Linked DNA regions of Homo sapiens: region 1 is linked to region 2. The links are contacts of gene promoters, found by promoter capture Hi-C in human tissues and cell types (Jung and others, 2019). All regions are on one chromosome and are shown on one strand. Each heading gives the region's core, a stretch centred on a gene start or on the middle of the fragment in contact. The rest is flanking DNA. Distances are from core to core; before and after follow the strand shown.

The links. Contacts are between HindIII fragments. The study calls those that stand out against the background at their distance.
Region 1: a contact is called between a fragment that was not itself captured here and the fragment with the promoter of ACTL9 in region 2, in 1 of the 25 tissues and cell types used here (psoas muscle).

The regions. Positions count from the first base shown.
Region 1 is chr19:8,647,031-8,652,137 of GRCh38, reverse strand. All of the region lies in intron 3 of NFILZ (NFIL3 like basic leucine zipper), which reads right to left. Among named protein-coding and RNA genes, the nearest start is that of NFILZ, 19 kb to the right of the region's middle. The HindIII fragment of the contact is 7,952 bases long and covers 1-5,107 here.
Region 2 is chr19:8,695,017-8,700,488 of GRCh38, reverse strand. ACTL9 (actin like 9) reads left to right here and starts at 1,694. Exons shown (of 1, transcript NM_178525.5): 1 at 1,694-3,089. The coding sequence starts at 1,788. The coding sequence ends at 3,038. The HindIII fragment of the contact is 20,213 bases long and covers 1-5,472 here.

The DNA.
Region 1 (5,107 bases), core at 1,512-4,011, 49 kb after region 2:
GAGCAAGACTCCGTTTCAAAAAAAAAAAAAAAAATCTCCCAGTGGTCACAGCAAAGTACAGAATTGAAGTCATTCAAGTTCTGTGTTTTCATCTTTAAATCATCTTTTATTATTTCTTTCTAGTCTAAATCCAGGAAGACGTAGATGTATTATACTATCATGAGGTTTAGAGACACTCAAGCCATTCCAAACCATTGTTTCTCCAAATGAAAGTAGATAGTTGAAGGATGGCTACCAGAGGCCAGGAAGGGTAGTGAGGAGGAAGAGGGAGAAGGAATGTTTAATGGGTCCAAAATATAGTTAGAGGCCGGGCACAGTGGTTCACACCTGTGATCCCAGCACTTTGGGAGGCCGCAGAGGGAGGATCACTTGAGGCCAGGAGTTCAAGACCAGCCTGGAAAACATCGTGAGATCCCCATCTCTATTAAAAGTTTAAAAATTAGCCAGGCATGGTGGCACATACCTGTGGTCCCAGCTACTCAGGAGACTGAGGTAGGAGGATCGCATGAGTCCAGGAATTTAAAGCTGGAATGAGCTGTGATCTCCCCACTGCACTCCAGCCTGAGCAACAGAGCGAGACCCTGTCTCTAAAGAAAGAAAAAAGTTAGATAGAAGAAATAATACCTAGTGTTCCGTAGCACAATAGGGCACCCATGGTTAACAATAACTTATTGAAGGTCGGGCGCAGTGGCTCACGCCGGTAATCCCAGCACTTTGGGAGGCTGAAGCGAGTGGATCACTTGAGGTCAGGAGTTTGAGACTAGCCTGGCCAACATGGTGAAGCCCCGTCTCTACTAAAAATGCAAAAATTAGCTGGGCCTAGTGGTGGGCACCTGTAATCCCAGCTACTCAGGAGGCTGAGGCAGGAGAATCGCTTGAACCTGGGAGGCGGAGGTTGCAGTGAGCTGAGATCACTCCACTGCACTCCAGCCTGGGCAACAGAGCAAGATTCCATCTAAGAAAAAAAAAGCTTATTATATATTTTGAAATAATTAAACAATTGTAATTGAAACGTTCCTAACACAAATAAATGTTTGGGGTAATGGACGTCACAATTACCCTGATTTTATCAGGACACATTGTATGTTTTTATCAAAATATCACATATACTCCATAAATATGTACACCTATTATGGTTCCACAATAACTAAAAATAAATTTAAGAAAAAGAAAGTGGATAATTAAATCCGCTTATGTGGACTGCCTCTGTACATGGGAATTTCTCTGAATTAATTTCCATGGAGAACACAAAGTTCACCAAGAATAAATGATGAAAATGCGCTAAGTTGAAGTTTACATGTACATTATGAAACCTCAAATAAATAAATACGTAAATTATGAAAATAAATAGTAACTAGAGAAATCCAAGTAAATTCTGTACTGGAGAGAATCAGTCATATTCTATCAGCATCAATGTCCTGATCTTTTTTTTTAGCATGAGTTTCCTTTTATTTCTATTTCTTTCTTCTTTTTTTTTTTTTTTTGAGACAGAATCTCACTCCATCTTGCAGGCTGGAGTGCAGTGGTTCAATCTTTGCTCGCTGTAACCTCCGCCTCCCATGTTCAAGCAATTATCCTGCCTCAGACTCCCCAGTAGCTGGGATTACAGGCGCGTGCCACCACGCCCGGCTAATTTTTGTATTTTTAGTAGAGACGGGTTTTGCCATGTTGACCAGGCTGGTCTCAAACTCCTGACCTCAGGAGATCCCCCTGCCTTGGCCTCCCAAAGTGCTGGGATTACAGGCGTGAGCCACCGCACGCAGCCTCTATTAATTTCTTTATACCCATCCATGTAGGGCTAACTCACTCATGCAATGTGCTGATCTTGACACTGGACTGTGGTCATGTAAGATCTTGTTAGAGGAAGCTGGGTGCAGGGGACATGAGAGCTCTGTGCTATTTTTGCAGCTTCTTGTAAGTCTTAAACTATTTCAAAATGTAAAAGTTATCAAAACAAACAACCACAAAAAAAAAAACCTCAGCTGTAACCGCAGTAATTTTTTGGAACCAATTTTTTTTTTTTCAGACGGAGTCTTGCTCAGCTGGCCAGGCTGGAGTGCAGTGGCATGATCTCAGCTCACTGCAGCCTCCACCTCCCGGGTTCACGCCATTCTCCTGCCTCAGCCTCCCAAGTGGCTGGGATTACAGGCGCCCACGACCAAGACCGGCTAATTTTTGTATTTTTAGTACAGACGGGGTTTCACCATGTTAGGCAGGCTGGTGTCGAACTCCTGACCTCAGGTGATCTGCCCATTTCAGCCTCCCAAAGTGCTGGGATTACAGGCGTGAGCTACCACGCCCGGCCAAAAGATTTTTTTTTTCAGGGTATTTTATTACTAACATTCTTTAGAATTCTGGGCATATGTGAATGATAAAAGCAGACTGCCTTCTGGTGATTTTTATTCTTGCTTTTCAATTCTCTGCAGACAATGTGAGGCAAACTGCTTTCCCCACCCTGCCCAGGGACTGGGCTGGACCAAGAAAACCAAAGTTCAGTAAAACAGGACCCATACAGCAGAGCCGGCAAGACAGGCGCTCATGGAAAAATTATGCTTTGAAAATGCTTAATTATGCCGGGCACGGTAGCTCACGCCTGTAATCCCAGCACTTCGGGAGGCCAAGGCAGGTGGATCACCTGAGGTCAGGAGTTCAAGACCAGCCTGGCCAACATGGCAAAATCCCGTTTCTAACAAAAATACAAAAAATTAGCTAGGCGTGATGGCATGCACCTGTAATCCCAGCTACTCAGGAGGCTGAGGTAGAAGAATCGCTTGAACTCGGGAGGTAGAGGTTTCAGTGAGCCAAGATAACACCACTGCACTCCAGCCTGGGCAACAGAGCGAGACTTTGTCTCAAAAAAAAATTGCTTAATTGCCAGGTGTGGTGACTCACCCCTGTAATCCCAGCACTTTGGGAGGCCAAGGTGGGAGGATTGCTTGAACCCAGGAGTTCAAGACCAGCCTGGGCAACGTGGCAAGACCCCATCTCTCCAAAAAAAAATACGAAAGTCAGCCAGGTGTGGTGGTGCCTGCCTGTGGTCCCAGCCACTCAGGAGGCTGAGGTGGAAGGATCACTTGAGCCCAGGAGTCTAAGGCTGCAGTGAACCATGATCATGCCACTGCACTCCAGCCTGGGTGACAAAGCAAGATCATGTCTCAAAACTAAATAAATAAAAATACATAAATATGCTTAATTATAGGGTGAGATAAGGGCCTTGAAAGAAAAGATAGGGGCTTCCTGAAATCACAATTTTACTTTTTTTACATCTGCCTTTTTTTTTTTTTTAAGCAGAGTCTCACTTTGTTGCCCAGGCTGGAGTGCAATGGCATGGTCTTGACTCACTGCAAATCTCCACCTCCCAGGTTCAAGCCATTCTCCTGCCCTCAGCCTCCCAAGTAGCTGGGATTACAGGCATGCACCACCACGCCTGGCTAGTTTTGGGTTTTTTGTTTGTTTGTTTGTTTTGTTTTGTTTGTATTTTTAACAGAGATGGGGTTTCACCATGTTGGCCAGGCTGGTCTTGAACTCCTGACCTCAAGTGATCTGCCAGCCTCGGCCTCCCAAAGATCTGGGATTACAGGCATGAGCCACCATGCCCAGCCACATCTGCCTTTTTTGTGTAGTAATATATACATAATGTAAAACTAACCATTTTAATCATTTCTCAGCGTCCATACAGTTCAGAGGCATTAAGCACACTCACATTGTGCAACCATCACCACCATCCGCCTCCAGAATGCTTCATCTTGCAAAACCAAAACAGCATACCCATTAAACACTAGCTTCCCATTCTTCCCTTCCCTTTATTTATTTATTTTTTTAAGTTCCAGGGTACATGTGCGAGACGTGCAGGTTTGTGACATAGGTAAACGTGTGTCATGGGGGTTTGCTGCACCTGTCAACCCATCGCCTAGGTATTAAGCCCGGCATTCCCTATTTTTCCTTTTTTTTTTTTTTTTTTTTTTTGAGACGGAGTCTCGCTCATGCCCAGGTTGGAGTACAGTGGCTCAATCTCGGCTCACTGCAAGCTCCACCTCCCAGGTTCACAGCATTCTCCTGCCTCAGCCTCCCAAGTAGCTGGGACTACAGGCACCCGCTACCATGCCCGGCTAATTTTTTTTGTATTTTTAGTAGAGACGGGGTTTCACCGTGTTAGCCAGGATGGTCTTGATCTCCTGATCTCGTGATCCACCCGCCTCGGCCTCCCAAAGTGCTGGGATTACAGGCACGAGCCACCGCACCTGGCTTCCCTATTTTTCCTGATGCTCTCCCACCCTGCCCTCCCCCAACAGGCCCCAGTTGTGTGTGTGTGTGTGTGTGTGTGTGTGTGTGTGTGTGTGTGCGCGCGCGCGCGCGCGCATGTGTGCGTGTGTGTGTGTGTGTGTGTGTTGTTCCCCTCCCTGTGTCCATGTGTTCTCATTGTTCAGTTCCCACTTATAAGTGAGAACATGCAGCGTTTGGTTTTCTGTTCCTGGTTTAGGTTGCTGAGAATGATGGCTTCCAGCTCTATCCACATCCCTGCAAAGGACATGATCTCGTTCCCTTTTTTTGGGGGGGGGGGTGCGGGGACAGAATGTCCTTCTTGTCCCCCAGGCTGGAGTGCAGTGGTGCGATCTCGGCTCACTGCAACCTCCACCTCCTGGGTTCAAGTGATTCTCCTGCCTCAGTATCCCAAGTAGCTGGGATTACAGGCGCCTGCCACCATGCCCAGCTAATTTTTGTATTTTTAGTAGAGACAAGGTTTCACCATGTTGGCTAGGCTAGTCTTAAACCCCTGACCTCAGGTGATCCACCCACTTCAGCCTCACAAAGTGCTGGGATTACAGGCATGAGCCACCGCGCCTGGCCGATCTCATTCCTTTGTATGGCTCCATAGTATTCCACGGTGTGTATGTACCACATTTTCTTTATCCAGTCTATCATTGATGGGCATTTGGGCTGATTCCATGTCTTTGCTATTGTGAATAGTGCACCAACCCTTGCCTTTACACTACTGTTATTAGCTGCCTGCATAACTGAGTTCAGCATTGTTCTAATCACGTTCCACATAATAGCCTCCTCTGATCCTCACCCAAACTTATAAGGCAGGAGTACCTGCCTATTAACA
Region 2 (5,472 bases), core at 445-2,944:
TAAACCTCTTTCATTTAGATATCCCATAAGACATTCACTAGCACTATTCCTGGTGATTTCTACCACCACATGCATGAACATACACTAAGAAAAACGTTTTTATTTGCTTTAACTAACAGGTGATATCTGATATCACCAAAAACAGCCATGGTCTTGAAGCAACTCTCCTAATGCATTTTGAAGCCTGCTATTTATTGTTGAGATAATTCCTTCCTCCCAAATGCACCCTCTCCCCTTTTATCTATACTGAAACCCCTTCTTGTATCTCACTGAGCCCCTCTCCTGCCAGGAGGAAGCAGGTAACAACCCCTGGAGAGAAGGCAGACTTCCCCCATCCCTCATCTAGTTGGAGTACAGAGTAGAAATCAGGGTTGGCTTCCAGGAGGAGGTGGCATCAGACTGAGATTTGAAGAGGCAAATTCCTTCTTGGCAGGAATGGGACAGGGAGAATGATTCAGGCAGTGAATATAGCAGAGGAAGCAAAGAATCTAGGACAGGGGTGTTCCTGTCTCTCCCTGCCTCTCTCCATCCCCAACCAAGGCTGGCCTCTGTCTCCATTTGGAAACCAGGAAGCCATGCTAGCCCGCCCCACCTTCTAATTAATATTCTGAGGAGGAATATTCTAATATTCTAGGGAGGCCTGTGGCAAGCTCTCTGCCACTAGGCTGTAAATAGCTTCATGGCGAGGTACCCAGAGGAGGATTCCTGGGTCTTCCTGAAAGCGTGGCCCAAAGAGTTAGAGAAACCAATTTTGCATGTTTTTAGTGAAACCATGCCCCAAAGAAATGTTTGAGCTTGCAGAATGGCAGATCAAAAAAGAAACAACTTGCTGAAATGCCTTCCACTTATGAGGGTTTTTTGTTTGTTTCTTTGTTTGTTTGTTTGTTTGTTTTGAGATGAGTCTCGCTCTGTCATACAGGCTGGAGTGCAGTAGCATGATCTTGGCTCGCTGCAACCTCCACCTCCCGGGTTCAAGAGATTCTCCTGCCTCAGCCTCCCTAGTAGCTGGGACTACAGGCATGTGCCACCATGCCTGGCTAATTTTTTTTCTTTTATTTTCTTTTTCTTTTGAGACAGAGTCTCACTCCATCCCCCAGCCTGGAGTGCGGTGGCATGATCTTGGTTCACTTCAACCTCCACCTCCTGGGTTCAAGTGATTCTCCTGCCTCAGCCTCCCCAGTAGCTGGGACCACAGGCATGCGCCACCATGCCAGGCTAATTTTTGTATTTTTTGGTAGAGACGGGTTTCACCATGTTGGCCAGGCTGGTCTCGAACTCCTGACCTCAGGTGATCTCCCACCTCGGTCTCCCAAAGTGCTGGGATTACAGGTGTGAGCCACAGCCCCCGGCCCCAGAACTTTTCTAATAAAATTACTGCCTTAAAGCCAGCTGAGAAACAGACTTGTGCTGGATTCCTAGCTCCCAGTGGGTTGACATGCAACAAAAAGCTTGTCTTTTCTCAAAAACCAGGTGCCATCGTATTAGCTTCTAGCGCATCCGACAGAAATGTGTTAAGAGGGCCCTGCTCTGAGATGCTCATCTCCTCCTCCAAATTTGGCTCTTCAGAGAAGAGATGACAGCCTTTGGGCAGGCAGGGCTGGGCAGGGACCCATCCTCTTGGCTGCATTGTGATGTCTTAAGAAGACTGAAGGGGCACCGTGACGTCATAGATTGCGGGCCCACCCCTCCCCCTGTCTGCCTGCCCTCCCCACTGGCCGGGCCTCAACCTCTTCTCCCCGCAACCCCAACCCCAGAGGAAAAGCCCCCTCACCTGGCGTCCCGCAACCATGGATGCAAGTCGCCCCAAGTCCTCGGAATCCCAGTCCTCCCTGGAGGCCCCCAGGCCCGGCCCAAACCCCAGTCCCAACGTGGTGAACAAGCCCCTGCAGCGGGACTCCCCCGGCATGGTGGCCGACAGGCTGCCACCAAAGACCGGCGCGGTGGTTATTGACATGGGCACAGGCACCTGTAAGGTAGGTTTTGCTGGGCAGGCCAGCCCCACCTACACCGTGGCCACCATCCTGGGCTGCCAGCCCAAGAAACCCGCCACCTCGGGGCAGTCCGGGCTGCAGACGTTCATCGGCGAGGCAGCCCGCGTGCTCCCAGAGCTGACGCTGGTGCAACCCCTGCGCAGCGGCATCGTCGTGGACTGGGATGCCGCCGAGCTCATCTGGCGCCACCTGCTGGAGCACGACCTCCGAGTGGCCACCCACGACCACCCGCTGCTGTTCTCCGACCCACCCTTCAGCCCGGCCACCAACCGCGAGAAGCTAGTGGAGGTGGCCTTCGAGTCGCTGCGCTCCCCAGCCATGTACGTGGCATCGCAGTCGGTGCTGTCTGTCTACGCCCACGGTCGTGTCAGCGGGCTGGTGGTGGACACGGGACACGGGGTCACCTACACAGTGCCCGTCTTCCAGGGCTACAACCTGCTCCACGCCACGGAGCGTCTGGACCTGGCGGGCAACAACCTGACCGCCTTCCTGGCGGAGATGCTGCTCCAGGCCGGCCTGCCCCTGGGACAGCAGGACCTGGACCTAGTGGAGAACATTAAGCACCACTATTGCTACGTGGCCTCCGACTTCCAGAAGGAGCAGGCCCGGCCGGAGCAGGAGTACAAGCGGACTCTGAAGCTGCCCGATGGGCGCACGGTCACCCTGGGCAAGGAGCTGTTCCAGTGTCCGGAGCTGCTGTTCAACCCCCCAGAGGTCCCGGGGCTGTCACCCGTCGGCCTCTCCACCATGGCCAAGCAGAGTCTCCGCAAGTTGTCACTGGAGATGCGCGCGGACTTGGCCCAAAACGTGCTTCTCTGCGGTGGGTCCTCGCTCTTCACCGGCTTCGAGGGTCGCTTCCGGGCAGAGCTGCTGCGCGCTCTGCCAGCCGAGACCCACGTGGTGGTGGCTGCCCAGCCCACCAGGAATTTCTCCGTATGGATCGGGGGCTCCATCCTGGCCTCCCTGCGCGCCTTCCAGTCCTGCTGGGTCCTGCGGGAGCAGTACGAGGAACAGGGTCCCTATATCGTGTACCGCAAATGCTACTGACCAGGGCAGAGCTGGGGAGGGCGTGGGGGCAGTAAAGCCTCTGCTACAGCCGGCTCTGTCCTGTCCTTCCTCCAGGGCCTGCCCCATCCACTCCTGGGCACCTCGCCCCACAGGCTGACCTAACTCACCTCCTGTGATGCATGCCCTGAGACACCCCAATCCTGACCCCCTAAACCCACCTTCCCCATGAATAACTCCCAACAGACCACTAAGTTCTAATCCTGTCAACCCATCCTCCTGTGATCTGTGCCCCTCCCCAGGCACCCTTGGGTTGGGACACCCCCTCCCCAGACCACCTCTGACAAGTGCCCTTCCCATTTACACACTCCCAGAGATGGGGAGTTCACTACCTCAAGGCTATTGTTAGAAATATCACCTCCTCCTATGAGTCATAGATAAGCCTCCACCTGGCACCTGCCCCCAACCCCAAACATGAAGAACATGAAAGCCTCTGACCACCCACCCCATGCCCACACACACCCCTAGGGTCTGCCACATACCCAAGCCACATACCCAATTCCTTCCATTTCTAGTTTAAGTGATTCATGCATTGATCCCACATACATTCATTAATTACCCACTATGTGCCCAAGACATCCTCAAATACTGACTCCCTAATCTCACCCCATTATCTATTGCTTTTGATATAGCATCCCAAAATACCCCTGGGCTCCAAACCCTCCAAACTGCCACCCCCCTTAGTATGCTCCTCAGGGACCCCCCAACCCAGTCTCTACCCCGGAATGCTCCAACCTCCTCCCAGAATCTTCCCGTGAGTGCTCCAACCCCTGGGTGCACCCCCATAATCTTCCCCTTATTTCTAATCCCCCCAAACACACTCTTAAATTCCACTTGTCAAGATTCCACTTGTCAAGATACCCCTGGTTCTCAGCACCCCAAATCCACCTCTTCATTGGTTTCCCCTAGGATGCCCCCCACAAGTGCTGACCCCCCAGATCCATCACAGAGACCTGAATTCTGACTTTCAAGGGTTTCTCCTACAATGGTCCCACCATGGGATGCCCCTGGCATCCATCATCCCTGCAGAACTCTCCCCTCCCCTCAGGATTTTTCCCCCAGACCTCCCCTGGCCCCACCTCCACTGACCAGGTGGTCCCATCACCCATCCCCCATCCATCTTCCCAAAACACATCATTCTGAGATCCACCCCCGAAACCCCAGGGTGGACCCCTGTTGCTCTAAGACCACTTTCTTGCACTGTGTCTCCGCCCGAAATACTCCCAAATGTTCTCTCTCACAGGACACTTCCTGACCCTCTTCCTCAGCCCCCAGCTCCTCCCAGGAAAGAGCCAGCCTCCCAAATGTCATGCTCAGGTCCCCATGAGCATCCTATAACGACCCCACTAGACCCTAGGCCCTCCTCTGTGTTCCAACACCTCCCAACTCCCTCCTCCACAGACTCTCCCAAAGATACCCTCCCAGGCACCCCATGATGTGCACCCCGCCCTGGAACTCTCACAGGCTCTCCGGAACCCACTCCCCAAGACCATTCCCTGGACACCATACTATCAAGCAAGACTTGGACATCAGTGGGTAGTGATACTCTTAAGGGCTTCCCAGTCCACTGCAGTCATGGGGCAGATGCCCCAGGCAAGGAGCTTCACCTGGACACTGGCTCTCTCACTCGCCCCAGCACAGGCACCCAGGGCCCATGTGTCCCAGGCTATGCATCCCCATCTCCCTCCATTCCATTAAAAGTCCATCTCTCAGCCTGTTCCTCTCAGTCCCATGAGCTTTCTCTGGGTTGTGCACTGAGGATGCTCGAGGAGGCCTCTCCCACCCCACCCTGTCCCTGCCAGGGTCGGGAGGGGGAATCCAGCCTCTCAGGATGGCGAGCGTCCTGGGTCCCCTCTGGAGGTAGGACCCTCTGTCTTCATGCCCCCTAGCCCAGCCTGAAGGACATCCGGACCTCCAGCCAGCAGTCTGGACACAACCCCCAGTTTATCAACACAGTAGACAGGAGCTGCTGGAGGTTATCCATGTCTGTGTCAAGTCCTCTTTTTGCTCAGCCCAAGAAATCATTCATTCACTCATTCATTCATTCTTTCAGCCAGTCACTATTTAAGGAGCATCACTCACAGGATCTGTAGGCTCCTGCTGTGTCTTTCTGTGCATTGCTAACTTTTCAGGAGTTTTGTGCTCAGTTGCTGTGTTTGTTTGTTTGTTTGTTTGTTTGTTTGTTTGTTTGTTTTTGAGACAGGGTCTCGCTCTGTCACCCCATCTGGAGTGCAGCCGCATGATCATGACTCGCTGCAGCCTCAGCCTCCCCCAGCTCAGGTGATCCTCCCACCTCAGCCTCCCGAATAGCTGGGACTGCAGGTGCATGCCACCACATCTGGCTAATTTTTTGTATTTTTAGTAGAGATGGGGTTTCACCATGTTGCTCAGGCTGGTCTCCAATTCCTGGGCTCAA